Linked DNA regions of Homo sapiens: all the other regions are linked to region 1. The links are contacts of gene promoters, found by promoter capture Hi-C in blood cells and fetal thymus (Javierre and others, 2016). All regions are on one chromosome and are shown on one strand. The core of a region is centred on a gene start or on the middle of the fragment in contact, and the rest is flanking DNA. Distances in the headings are between cores, read along the strand shown. Region 1 holds the start of BSN (bassoon presynaptic cytomatrix protein). Region 2 overlaps BSN (bassoon presynaptic cytomatrix protein). Region 3 overlaps BSN (bassoon presynaptic cytomatrix protein).

Region 1 (4,708 bases), core at 1,351-3,850:
CAGCCCAGGGGATAGGACCAGTCAGACAAGGTCCTGCTGTTGAGGAGCCCCAGTCTAGATCAAAAGGAGGTAAACAGCCTCTGGGACAGTGAATGGAAATGGGAGATTGAATCAGAGCCCCAGATAACCAGAGGCCAATACCATCCCATGGTCCACAAGAGTCCCTGGGCTGAATGTCAAGGGTGAATGAACACAGGGCAGGCATGTTCCTGGGGATGCTCCTCAAAGGAAACAGAACTGGGAGAGTTTGAGAGGAGAGGAGGGGCACCTCTAACCCACATTTTCAGGTCTCCTGGGTCCACTGTGCTGTGCCCTTTGTCACCAGGGCAGCAAAGACCCTGGAGGTCTGCTAACAGCCAGGAATCCACTCTGAGGAGGGCAACTCCCCAAGCCTGCAGGCTGGGTAGAGCTAATTAACCACACAGGAACCAGAGGCATGTTGATTTAAATCTGTGGAAAGCCATAGCTCCTGTGGTTTCTACAAAAACAAAAAAATAAACATCCTTTCCCCTGTTTCAAGTAGCCCAACCCACACTGACTGGGGTCTGTGAAGCTATAACAGCCTGGGTTGGGACAAGGTCAGGCCACTGGCCTGCCCATAGTGTTTGTGAGCATATTCTTCCCCAGGAGGAAATATATGGCACAAGACCGCCACATCCCAGACCATCACCAGGGAGACAACTAATAACAGAGTTGTCATAAGTATACCAGGCACTTGTCCTGGTGTTTTACCTACATCAGGCTGGGTGCATTGACTCATGCCTGTAATCCCAGCACTTTGGGAGGCCGAGGTGGGAGGATCACCAGAGGTCAGGAGTTCAAGACCAACCTGGCCAACATGGTGAAATCCCATCTCTACTAAAAATACAAAAACTAGCCAGGTGTGGTGGTGGGCACCTGTAATCCCAGCTACTAGGGAGGCTGAGGCAGGAGAATCATTTGAATCCGGGAGGTGGAGGTTGCAGTGAGCCGAGATCACACCACTGTACTCCAGCCTGGGTGACAGAGCGAGAGTCTGTCTCCAAAAAATAAAAATAAAAAAAATAAAATGAATAAAAAATAAAATATCTACATCAGCCACTCTACCCTTACAATCCCCCATATTCGAGGAGCTACTAAGATTCTAACTTTGCAGAATAGGAAATGGAGGCTCAGTGAGCCTAAGTCAGTTGCCAAGGGTCCTATCGGGGCTGAGGTGCAGACTCTTTTGGAGCCTAAATGTGCACATGTAGTCACCACTCACGAAGCTGTATCAAACATCCTGCAGCACAGGAGGAAACACAGCAAGGACCATCATCTGCAGGAAGAGAGGCTCTCTTCATCCTAGGTCATCCCAGAGGGGCCAGGCAGTTTAGCGTGAAAACGGGAGGTATGAAGTCAGGAGAAAATATCAGGAAGTGGGGGCTCTGCATTTCCTCTTTCTCTTACTTGCTCCATCCCAGAGGTCGGGAGGAGCAGCTCGGAGTGCACAGGGGAAGGCCCAGGGAGGGTCCTGGCCCCTCCTCACAAGAACTGACACAGCCACCGGTCTGTCCAGCAGGCTGGCTATCAGCATTCACTGGGATCCCTGGATTATTCTAGGTTCAGTTAGAACTGCTAACACCCTATGTGATATATTTCGCAACATTAGGAGAATTGAATGGGTTTGTAAAATGGGTTCAAGTTACTCACGCCTTTCTACACAGTCATGATTTATGACGTCAGAGATGAACTGGAATATAGGCTCCTAGGAAATATTCTCCCACAGGAAAGTACAGGCTTGTGTGAGAAGCCACCACGGCAGACAATCCTGAGTAGCGGGCAGAAACCGGCTGTAAATGTGAGGGAGCGGGGAAGTAATTTGGAAAGCTCTCAGGGTAATGCAGAGGCAACCTGCGGCCCCGCATCGAGACAGCTCCAGGCCTGAGAACCATCAAGTCCTCTTTTCCATCCCCAAGGTCACTCTCCCAGGGCTGACTGAGGTGGCCTCCCAGCTGGCTTCACACAGCCCTGTCACACCTTCCATCTGTGCCCGGGGCGCTTCCTGAGACTCCCAGTTCCTCAGTGTGAATCCCAGATGGTTCCCATCGCCATCTGGATAAAGGCTCCACTCCCCAGCTGGCCTTAAAGACCCTCACAATCCGGCCCGACCACCCAGCACCCTCCCTCTCCTTCCCTCTACGACCTTGCGTCTCTGAATACACTTGTTCCTCTGCCTTCCCAACTCCTATGCATACTTTTGAGGCCATTCTCGGGTAGCCCCTCTCCTCTCCGAGGCCTGTCCTTATGACGCCTGCCCGCTGTGGCACTCCGGTTACCCGGAGGAGAGTTGCTACTCTCGAGTTCACCGAGGCGGAAAGCCCCTCTGACTCCAAAGCAGGGCTCAGCGCGACGTCCCAGAGGCCGCTTCTAGTGGCAGGTGCCCCTCCTCACAGGGCCCTCGCAGCCCCGCCGGCCCCCGCCCGGCTCCTTCTCAGCATGATACAACCGCGTCGGCCCTGGACAGCGCATGCGCGGGCGCCGGCGGCTGTTTCCCAGCGACCCCGAGGCTGGCGGGAGCGCGCACAGGGGAAGGGGGGCGTGTGCAGGGAAGGGGGCGCGAGACGCGCATGCGCAGCGGCAGGCGGCGGCGCGAGCCGAGCTGGGAGATGGCGGCGGCAGCGGCGGCGCCGAGAGTGTGAGCACCGCCCGGGAGCCGCCGGCCCGGGCGCAGCGCGACCCCGACCCCGCCCGCCCGCCTGCCCGCCATGGGCAACGAGGTCAGCCTGGAGGGCGGCGCTGGCGACGGGCCGCTGCCGCCCGGCGGCGCCGGCCCCGGCCCGGGCCCCGGCCCCGGCCCCGGCGCAGGAAAGCCGCCTTCAGCACCGGCCGGTGGCGGACAGCTCCCCGCGGCGGGAGCAGCGCGGTCGACCGCGGTACCACCGGTCCCTGGCCCCGGCCCCGGCCCCGGTCCCGGCCCTGGCCCGGGCAGGTAAGCGCGTGTCTCGGCGCCCGGGGGGCGGTGAGCTGCAGCCTGAGGCCGGGACCCGGGCCCAGGATCCCGCGATCTAGTGTGGACAGCGAGGTTCGACGTCCGGCCGCACTCTGAACCCTGCCGGATTGGCGTGAACTGGGTGGTCGCGGGAAGCGGCCCTTCCTTTCCAGCTGCCCCGCCTTGGCGTGGCAGGATGACGAGCGCAGGGTCAGTCGGGGCCTGCAGACCGTGACTCCGTCACGAACCCCAAATTCGCTTCTCCCCAACGCTCGGGCCTGACTGCTCAGGAGGGGCTTATGTAACCTTAACCTGGTCCCTCCGCACAGGAGAGCAATGGGATGGAAAACGTCCTCCCTGTCTGCTGGTGTCTGCATGTGTCCATTGTGCTGGGCCGAGAAAACAGCACAATGGGAGTGGCTGTCAGGGAAGATAAGTGTCACTGCGAGGAACAGAGAGATGAAAATAGTTGAACCATGAACTTGGTCTTGGGCTTTCCTTGGGCATTTAGTGGCTGTAATCACCTTTGGGGGAAAGGAAAATTGCCCACTGGACACCAAGAGGTGCTTATTTAGGCCCAACAATACTAATAGGATCATGTGCTTTCACCAAGGTTTAGGGAAACATTTTGGGGTGAAGCAAAAATGCTATTGAGTCATCCAGCACCAGATATGTTCTCGTTACCTTATGATTTAGATCAAACCAGTGGAAAAGCTGAAACCCACACAGAATGCTTTAAACAGAACATATCTGATTAAATACTGTGAAACCAGTTTGTTTTAAATGTATGCCAACCCAGGTCCTGCAAAAACAGTCAAGTGGCAATGAAGGCTGTAAGGGAATGCCAATATATAATAAGTCAGTAGACTGAAAACTCAGGAAAACTACTAAGAGATGACACGATAAAATGGAAGGCATTATCTTTGCACCAAATAGGCTTGGGGAGTAGCAAAACCCCCAGGGGGTGGGAGGGAGGTGCTTCCAGCTCCATGTGGGTCTGCTGATATATGTTGCCCTGGCTTTTCTGTGTGGAAGCACATAAACTGAGGACGCATAATTTTTTATTCTTTGGCTGCCCGACTGTGCCTCTTGTGTGTTTATTTCCTCAGAAGTCATTTCTTAGACAACTAACAGTAATGAAAGGCTGTTAGTAGCTTGAAACCTGCGGCAGACAGGTCAGCCTGTGAGCATCCTTTTTAGAGGTGGGATTTGTCCATTTTATACTAGCTATAATAGTAATGCAGTTGGATAGCACACAGCTCTTAGCACTGCAAACACTGTCCATTTTGCTGCATGTTGAGTTGCTGTTTGGGTTTTAGCTTGAGGGAGGCTCACCCAGGCTTTAGTGTTCTCCTTCCAAGGGAAAGCTTCTGTAGCTGAATGGAAAAACACCTTGTTATTGAGAGTTCCCTGTATGGGGAATTTGTCATTTCTCTTCTGATAACCAAACAGGCTGCTCTGCTTGTAGTTTATCAGATGTTGCAGAGCCAATCATATGAAATTCTGGAAAGACCTGGGCAGCTCAGAGGGACCGGAAGGAGGCTGATGTCTATTGCTCATATGCCTTTTTAGTGTTTCATTTGTACTTCATCTGTACATTCTGCTGCAGGCAGACCCATGAACTGCTGTGGGTGAGGCGAACCACGGACTCCTGATGGATTTAGTAGTCACACAATCTCTTACCTGGCTGTGGGCAAGGCTCATACCTGAGCCTGTGGTGCTGAGGTCCTGTGACTATCAGACTCAGGAGGTGAGCTG
Region 2 (4,708 bases), core at 723-3,222, 82 kb after region 1:
GTGGTGATGATGACTGCGAAGAGCCATGATAGATTCCTGGTGTGTTTGGGTGGCTAAACAGACAGAATTGGATTGGATGTGGAGGGTAGGAGATGGAGATAGAGAATTTTTCTGTTTGGGCCATTGCCAAGTTGAAGGTGCCTGACAAATCTAAGACCCTGGCATGAAACAGGCAGGTTGGGATGGAGACTTTTGTTTCATATTCACAAGCATATAGTGACATTTAAAGTGCCATAGGAGAGATGTGGACAGAGAGAAGAGGTGTCAGGATCTGGGCTCCCCAGCACTGAGAAGAACCCAGCAAAGGTGGCTGGCAAGGATAAGCAAAGAAGAGTAGAAAGGCCAGCAAGTGGAGGGCCAAGGGATCCAGGAGGGGAGAATATCTGAGCAGTAGTGGGGAGTCAACTGCCAAGAGCCCATCACAGGAGCTCTTGATGCCTTGCTGGGTGGAGCAAAACAGAACAACCAGGTTGACAAGTCATTTTTACCCCCAACCTCAAGTTATGAATATTTTCAAGCCTACAAAATTGTTGAAAGAATTGTACAAGGAACACCCACAAAGCCACTATCTGGATTTATAATGAACCCCTCCTCTCCTGGCTTTATCACGTATCCATTCTACCATCTATTTGTTCTTCTGTCTGTCCATCTATCCATCCATCTTTTTGTTGAATGTCAAAGTACATTGCAGTGGGCCAGGCATGGTGGCTCACACCTGTAATACCAGCACTTTGAGAGGCGAAGGTGGGAGGATTGCTTGAGCCCAGGGATTCAGGAGCAGCCTGAGTAACATGGCAAAACCCTGTCTCTACCAAAAAAAATACAAAAATTAGCTGGGTGTGGTGGCGCCATGCCTGTAGTCCCATCTACTCGGGAGGCTGAGGTGGGAGGATCACTTGAGTCTGGGAGGTGGAGGTTGCAGAGAGCCATGATCATGGCACTGCACTTCAGAACCAGACCCTGTCCCCCTCCAAAAAAAAAAAAAAAGTACATCGCTGATATCAGTATACTTCCCACTAAGCACTTCAAGCGTATCATTAACTAGAGTTCAGTATTTATTTAAGGTTTCTCTTTTTTAGCTAAAATTTACATATAATGCAATGTACAGCAATTAATTATTCCAGTCGGTGAGCTTTGAGAAGTGGTCTGCAGCTCAGCCCCATGTGGGTTGCAGGTCATCTGGAGTGACCATGGAAGTCATTTAGCAGGAGTTTAAGAGGCGAGGGCCAAGGACTTGCAGGCCAGGATAAAGGGGCCTGGAGGGAGGGCAGCAGAAGCCAGGAGGGGAAGCTGGGCATGAACCAAAGGGTCCTGGGGATTTTAAGGAGAAGTTGAGGCTAGTCCAAGGGTCCAGCCTCTCCTGGAGAGGGTTACTGGTGACTAAGAGGAGTGTGTATGGGGAGGGTGCAGGGGAGTTGGCCAGTCATGGATGGGGTGTGTTACAGGGTACACCAGATCATCCTGGGTCGGGAGGGGGGCTGTCCAGAGCAGTGTGGGAGGAGTTAAGAGATATTGAGGGCAGAGAGACAGATGTGTCCAGGGATCAGCAAGGGGACGGATCCTCTCCCTTTCGTGGAGATCCAAGCCAGTGAGGTCTTCTAGCCCCAGGTGCGATTAGGTTCAGCCTCCACTCCCCAGATCCTGACCTCAGATGTTGGGCAGGTTCCCAAGACCTTCCTCAGGGCTCTGATAGATTGGCACAGGCCTCCCCTGGCTGGTCCAGCTCTGGATCAGTGTGACCCTGCCCACTGGGACCCTGTGGTACCTGCTTCCTAAGCCTGAGGTCAGCTAGCTGACAGTAAGGTGCTAGATGGGGCAGGCAACATGTCTATTGCTGTACCAGGGTGAGTATCCAGGCTAGGCCTGACTCCCTCCCTCTCAGCTGCCACCTTAGCTGCCCTTCTGCACATCGGCCTGTCCTTGTTGTCCAGGGGGCATGGGAAGGTATGTTCCTCCTGATGAGACCTGGCCAGTGACTCATAGCCCAGAAAGGCATATAGTCACACTGGCCAGTGGGGCCCTCCCAGGAACCTCTAGATTTGGCACCTGCAGGGAGGGCTCCTTTATGAGCTGTTTCTGTGATGTTTCAACTTGTACCAAAATGGAAAGCATAAATGCGGCATCAGGCGTGATGTCAGTGCTGAGTGATCTGAAACACTGAATGCCTGCTCTCCCTGGTAGGGCTGGGGCTCTCCACAGGAAGAAGGCTGAGTGACGTCTGCAACCTTCCTTTTCCTTGCTGCTGGGGGGGTGAGAGGAGGCGAGTGGGAAGAGAACATGTGACTTCGGGGGGCTCTCAGAGCTTCCTGACAGCCATGGAGGTGACCGTGAGGTAGACTCCACCCTGTGAGCATCCTTTGGGGCCAGATATGGCAAGCAAGGCTGAGTCCCACCCTTGAGGGCTGAGACACTCTGTGCAGCCAGTGTTCCTGCAGGGAAGATGTAGAAGCTCTTCCCAGAACTGCCCTCCTTGCTCCAGAGCCCAGTGGAGGAATTACCAGGGAGTGACCATTGCAGACAGATCACAGCTGCTCATTCAACTTAGAGTTCATACAGCCTCCAGCTTGGGCCCCAAGCCTCTGGATCCTTGGCCAGTGCCACCTTAGCTGCCCTTCTGCACACTGAATAGTTTGAGTAAGGAAGCAGCTAAAAAAGACTCTTCTCAGGGAGAAAGTCCTCTCAGAGCTACAGAGCCCACAGGGTCCTATGTTTCCAAGTCCCTAGCAGACAGGTGGCAGTGGCTCCCTGCAAAGCCTGTAGGAAGGCTTCCTGCAGCTTCTGCTTCCCCCACCTCTTAAACCACCTCTTGACCTTGTACTGCACTGAGCCTTCCCATCCTTACTGCCACTTAGGCCCCCACTGGGTCGGGGTGCACGGGCTTCCATGGAGGTCCCTACCAGTCCTTGGAGATGGCAAGATGGGCTTCCTTGCTAGCAAGAAGAGTCAGCTCATTCAAAGCTAATGTCTGACAGAGCTGTCCACCTTAGGGTAGCCCCAGGAAGGCTCCTGAGACACGAGGCTCGTGGCTGGTAGCCTGCACATCTCCTGCCCATGTGCCAGATCAGGATCTTGGAGGTATTAGACAGCAGAACCCTAGCTGAGGCTTCTTGTCACACTGGTAAAAGGATAGTCCCTCTGATTCTGATGGAGAGCCAGCTTGGAGAGGGCCTAGGAGCCACAGGGAGCCTTCTGGGTTCAACCTCTTGATGAGGAGGCATCACTGTGTGCAGCTAAGGAAGGCTCTAACTGTACTGGCACTCAGGCCAGTGGAGTCTGCCACAGAACTATTCATGTATACCCAGGCTGGGTGGGCGGGTGGGTTGGGGTGCACAGCCATCATCTCTCTCCCTACCCCGTGGACAGCCTCCATCCCCCTGAGTGTGGGGATAGGGGCCTTGCAGTATGGAGGAAGAGACTGAGGTTGGGCTCCTCCCAGGAAACTGCTGGGGATCTGTCGGGGAGGCAGAGAGGGGGATGTATTGCTGGCCTCAGAGAGCTCCCTCAGCCAGTGTCCTCCTTAGGAGGCCTTGCATGCTGGGCCTGAGCCTGGGAGGGGCTGTGGGGAGGGTGCGGTCAAGGTTCCTTACCGTCTGGAAGAGGCTGGATAGAAATAGCTGCACCCATCTGGGCGATGAGTCACTGAGGGGCGTTTCAGCCTTTTCTTGGAGAAGTTCTATTTTAGGTGAGATGCCTGTGCCACAGCCTGGATGACAGGGGCTGGGGAAAGGAAAGTTCTGGCGGTGAGTGCAGGCGGTTTGGCACGTGCCTTTGTTCAGCCTGATTCAGAACCCCAGGGACAGTCACCCCAAAGTTGCAGGATAAGAAGCCTTACCTCCTAAATTCCCTTTCCCAGGAAGAAGTCTCACCTCAGGGCATGCTGCAGTGCCCAGGTGAATGAGAGAGATGGGACGTTGGGTGTGGGCTGGGCACCCACGGGAAGAACTGAATTTGTGGCTGCCACCCTGGGCCAGAGGCTGAGCTTCCCCTCTGAGGAGTAATCCCCTTCCAGGGTCCCTCTCTGGATGAGTAGAAATGGCCTGCTCTGGGGAACTCTCACTTTGATGGGAATAAGCCCCTCCCTCCCAAGAATGACCTTTCTAAAGAGGTCTTTAGACTGGGTTCAGGGACTGAAATTGTTTTCTCTCTGGCTTTCTCTACCCAAACATAGACAAAGCTGCCTTGCTTCTTTCTTTCTTTTTCTTTTTTTTTTTTTTTTTGAGACAGAGTCTCGCTCTGTTGCCCAGGCTGGAGTGCAGTGGCATGATCTCGGCTCACTACAACCTCTGCCTCCCAGGTTCAAGCGATTCTCCTGTCTCAGCCTCCCAAGTAGCTGGGACTACAGGCATGTGCCACCACACCCGGCTAATTTTTTCTATTTTTAGTAGAGACGGGGTTTCACCATGTTAGCCAGGATGGTCTCGATCTCCTGACCTCATGATCCGCCCGCCTCTGCCTCTCAAAGTGCTGGGATTACAGGCGTGAGCCACGGTGCACGGCCTGCCTTGCTTCTTAAAAAGCATTTGGGTGGGTTAATTGTTCCCAGCTAGTGGGATGGCTTCTCACCTCACTGCCTCGGCATCACTGTTCTTAGAGTTTCTAGAACTGGGATTGGCCTTTGGGGGGCTCTGCCAGGGTTTGCAGTGCTGACTTCTAGAGCCTGACTTGGCCTTTGGAAGAGGCAGGACTACAGAAGGCACCAGGCTCCAGG
Region 3 (4,708 bases), core at 1,001-3,500, 66 kb after region 1:
TCCTATGAACTTTGGTCCTCCCCACAAAGCTTTCTGGGTGATTTCTAGCCTGAGAATTGTCTGTGAACAAGACCTGTAACTCTCCCAGATAAAAATATCTACACTTATCTGAATTGAACTGAAGCTGTGACCCATCTCTTAATGTCTCTTACCCCCTACCCCCACCTCAACACAACCAAACCAAACCCAAACTTGTGATTTTGTGATTTCGCTTCCCATTTCTTACCCACTAATTGACTTCTCTCCCTGGATTCCCCATCTCAATTAAAAGGAACACTCCTCCCTGGAGCCAAAGCCAGAATACCTGCTGCTGTACCTTCCCTTCCTCTTGCCACACAGACTATCTCCTGGGCCAGTGCCTTATTCTCACTGGTTTCCTACCTCATCATCTTCTTCTCCTTGAAGAGACCCTAAACATTCCCCTATGTGAAAACCTTACAGGCTGTGCTCATTTTAGCTTTTAGCTTCCCAATTAGCTCAGGTAGTTCAACACACACTATCACACGATTGCTGGGAGCTGTTCTAGGTGCTGGGAGCACCAATGACTTACGTCTTCCAAGCTTATCCTGCGTAGCTACTCAGACTGAGCATGCTCTGCTGTGCCTCTGGGTCTTCGTGCATGCTGTTGCCTCTGCCTAGCATGCCCTGTCACCTTGGCATGAACAGCTCATCTTTTAAGACCCAGTTTAAATGTCTTCTCATCCTCAAAGACTTCTGCCTCTGTCCATCACTGGACCATGCAGCAGTGTGTCTTGCAGGGATTTGTTTGCACATCTGTCTCTACTCTAGACCAGAGGCTCTTGGAGGACTGGACTCCTATATGAATCATTTTTTAAAAAAATATTTTAATTAAATATTAAATGACTTTATAAAGAATATAAGAATACCTATACAACATGTATAAGATGTGAAGAATAAAATATGAACACCTGTGGACCCACCTTCCATTGAAGAGATATCATTCCTTTATACCATCAATACCTATTATAGGGCCTGGAACTAATCCAGGGGTCAGTAAATGTGAATTCCTGAATGAATGAATGAATAAATATCTATTGTTGGAGTCATTTTCTCTCTGAGTCTCCCAGCGTTGCTAGTTAAGTCCCAGGTGAATGGTGTCATGGCCCTAGCCCAGCCCCACTCTGTGAGCTCATTCTACTGTTCACACATTGTTCTGGTTGTTGTGCATGTGCTTACTGAGTGTCCATTCAATGCCAAGCGTGGCGCTGGGTCCTAAGGATATAGTGGGGAGCAAAATGGTGAAACCTCTTCCCAGGGAGCTTCCACGTAAGCAGCTCTTCAGAAAAAATAATCCAAAGAACCCAAACTGCAATGCTTTCTACCCCCTCTACAGCTACCCTAGAAAGGCAGTGTGGGATGTGGTTAAGGACATGGACTGGTGGCCTAGATATTGGAATCCCAGCTCCACCATTTGCAAGTCATGATGGCTTTGTATGTTACTTAACTTTTATGTGTGGCAGTTTTCTCATCTGTAAAATGGGCAAAATAGATCCTATCCAGTGAATTTGCTGTGAGGCTTAAAGCAGTTACTATGTGACAGGTGGCTCATGGTGAGGGCTCGGTCAGCATTACCACAATTATTGTCAGCAGAGCCTTCTATGGTACGGCTGGGGGTGTAGCCAACTGCTATAGGGAGGAACTTTAGGTATTGTTCCTGAAGTTCTCTCCTGCATGAAGTCAGACCCAGAGAAGGGCCGAGTGTCATGCCAGGCACTTGCCGTGTTTCCTCAGCTTTAAAACTTTGGGGCCACATTTTACTGCTCTGAGTCATTTAGTGCTTACAGTCACCCCATTCAGGAAATAAATATTGAGCATCCAGTTTGTGCCAGGCACTGTGGTAGGCCCTGGGACACAGCTGTGAGGAAAGCACACGGAGACTGTGCCCACACAGAACTGGCAGTTTAATGCAGGGATCCCAAAGGATATACAAAAGCAATAAATTTGTTATATGATGGGTCAGAAGGTGCTCAGTGCCACAGAGAACAAAGAGGCAGGGGAGACAAGCACAGTTTTAAATAGATTCAGGGTAAGTGTCCCTGAAAGGATGCCACCAGAGCAAAAACTTGAGAGGGAGCAAGTGTCTGCAGAAAGAACAGCAAATCCGAGGCGGGCGGATCACAAGGTCAGGAGTTCAAGACCAACCTGGCCAATATGGTGAAACCTCGTGTCTACTAAAAATACAAAAATCAGCTGGGCATGGTGGCACATGCCTGTAGTCCCAGCTACTTGGGAGGCTGAGACAGAAGAATTGCTTGAACCCGGGAGGCGGAGGTTGCCGTGAGCTGAGATCGCAGCACTGTACTCCAGCCTGGGCGACAGAGTGAGACTCCGTCTCAAAAACAAAACAAAACTAAAGAAAAAAAAAAGAAAAAAAAAACAAAGAACAGCAAATCCAATGGCCAAATGCACATGTCAGGAGTGGGCCTGGCATAAGGGAAGTGGAATCAGGGAGAGGATAATCAGAGATGAGGCCAGAGGGAAAGGGGCAAAATCTCATGGGGCCTTATGGGCCATTGTAAGACTTTTGGCTTTTCCTTTGGGAGGGAAAGGAAGCCAGTGCAAGGCTTAAGCAAAGCAGAGAAGTGGCCTGACTTGTGTATTTAAAGCCTTATTCTGGGGCTGGGCTTGGTGGCTCATGCCTGTAATCCCAGCATTTTGGGAGGCTGAGGTGGGCGGATCACTTGAGGTCAGGAGTTCAAAGCCTGGCCAACATGGCGAAACTCCGACTCTACTAAAAATACAAAAAATTAGCGAAGCATGCTGGTGTGCGCCTGTAGTCCCAGCTACATTGCAGTGAGCCGAGATTGCATCACTGCGCTCCAGCCTGGGCAACAGAAGGAGACTCACACACACACACACAAAAAGACTTATCCTGGCAACTGAGAATGGCTCAAACCAGGTGGGGTGAGGAGGAGGGAGTAGGTAGTAGTGGCCAGCTTCAGAAACCAACAAGATATACTGCTGGATTGACTTAGGATGAGACAGGAAGGGAGGCAGAGACGGCACCAAGGGGGAGACTAGGAGGCCCACATTTAGGGGGAAGATCAGGGGCTCAGCTTGGGTGTATCAAGGTGGAGATGCCTACAGGGCATCTCTGTGAAGATGTGGAGTTGGCAGTTAGACAGGTGAAGAGTTCAGAGCAGAGTTCTGGGCCAGAGATAGACATTTGGTGGGTATCAGTGGAAAGTGGATTTAAAGCCCTGAGACTGGGTAAGTCTTGAGACTTAGGGATTGTGAGTACTCACAGAAGCACGTTTGTGTAAAGACTGAGCCCTGGGTCTCTCCAGTGTAAGGAGTGGTGTTCTGGGGTTGGCAGATGAGGAAGAATCTGCAGAAGAGATTAGAAAGGTGTGGCCAGGCAGGAGGAGGAAATTCAGGAGAAGGTGGTATTCCCGAAGGCAAATAGTGAACTTATTTCAGGAAGAAGGGAGTGATCACCCAGGATCAAGTGCTGCTGATGGTCAAATGAGATGAGGAACTGAGATGTGACTGTCGGATTTGATGATGTGGAGGTCCCTACTGACTGTGACCTGAGTAATGTCTGTGGAGTGATGGGCAAAAGCCAGGTTGGAGGGGTAGGTTGAGAGGGAGAGAGGAGAGGAGTGGGAGGTAGTGAGTGGAGGCAGTTCTTTTATTATTTATTTTAGAGACAGAGTCTTGCTCTGTCACTCAGGCTGGAGCACAGCAGCGTCGTCCTAGCTTACCGTAACCTTGATCTCCTGGGCTCAAGAGATCCTCCTGCCTCAGTCTCCCAAGTTGGGATTATGACTTGGCAACCTGGCAAGTCACCTTGCCAGGCAAGTGGAGATAATTATTTTAAGGAGTTTTGCTGTAAAGAAGAGGAGAGAAATGGGGCAGTAGCTGAAGGAGTAGTGGAGCAAAGTACTGCTGCTTCTACTTTTTTGTTGTTTAGGATGGGAGAAGCTTGTTTGTATGATAATTGAAATGATCCAATAGAGAGGGGGAAATGGATGATGAAGGATAGGGGAGAATTTGTGAAGGTGAGAAGTGGGCCTTGGGATTGGGAGGCAGGTGAACACTGGGGGACAGGAGTAGGGAGGCTGAGGTTGTGCAGGTTTCTTCTGGTGGGTCCCACTTTTTTTGTGAGATGGTCAGCAGGTCATCAGTGGCAGTTAAGAGACAAAAGGAGGTGTTTGGAAGCTTGAAGATCAAGGAGAGGATATAAGGAAGCATCTAGGAAGATGGGAGAATACAAAGACCGTGGACATATATCGCGATCTCCAGGTGTCATGATGGCTACCATGAGGTGTGTGGGTGCACATCAATGCCAGGAACACTGCCCTTGCATGCAGACTTTGCTGGGTGCAGAAGACATTGCTTGTTTATTCACTGTCACCACAGCTGAGTTTAGAACCCTAAATGTCTCCAGAAAGACTATATTGTGATACAACATTGATTTAAAAAGTCACTGTATATATAGATTGCCTGCTACTTATTGGGCAACACAAATACAATAGAAATGGCTACATTTCTCAGAAGGCTTGCACCACCTGGAGAGGGGGCCACAGCCCATTCACATGTTGTAAAAAGCTCTCAGTAGCTTCTGATTTGCTTTCAAGGGCTGCCTTTAAACTCCAGTCTTAAATAATTTATGTAAAAAATGAAACTATTAATTTGGACAAGTGGGAAATATTTCTTTAGGATACCTAGAAATTAGTATACTGAA

What was found. Contacts are between HindIII fragments. The CHiCAGO score rates a contact against its expected background, and 5 or more counts as called.
Region 2: a contact is called between a fragment that was not itself captured here and the fragment with the promoter of BSN in region 1, in 3 of 17 cell types (endothelial precursors, erythroblasts and M2 macrophages). The highest score is 5.8, in endothelial precursors.
Region 3: a fragment that was not itself captured here is called in contact with the fragment with the promoter of BSN in region 1 in 1 of 17 cell types (endothelial precursors); the score reaches 5.9 in endothelial precursors.

What each region holds. Positions count from the first base shown.
Region 1 is chr3:49,551,877-49,556,584 of GRCh38, forward strand. BSN (bassoon presynaptic cytomatrix protein) reads left to right here and starts at 2,601. Exons shown (of 12, transcript NM_003458.4): 1 at 2,601-2,950. The coding sequence starts at 2,727. It overlaps BSN-DT (BSN divergent transcript), which reads right to left and starts at 2,490. Exons shown (of 3, transcript NR_038866.1): 1 at 2,165-2,490; 2 at 1,672-1,811. RefSeq lists silencers at 2,409-2,708, 2,779-2,988. The HindIII fragment of the contact is 4,717 bases long and covers 1-4,315 here.
Region 2 is chr3:49,635,000-49,639,707 of GRCh38, forward strand. The region is part of intron 2 of BSN (bassoon presynaptic cytomatrix protein); the gene reads left to right. Among named protein-coding and RNA genes, the nearest start is that of APEH, 37 kb to the right of the region's middle. RefSeq lists enhancers at 3,191-3,692, 3,693-4,192. The HindIII fragment of the contact is 9,454 bases long and covers 1-4,708 here.
Region 3 is chr3:49,618,069-49,622,776 of GRCh38, forward strand. All of the region lies in intron 1 of BSN (bassoon presynaptic cytomatrix protein), which reads left to right. Among named protein-coding and RNA genes, the nearest start is that of APEH, 54 kb to the right of the region's middle. The HindIII fragment of the contact is 3,385 bases long and covers 559-3,943 here.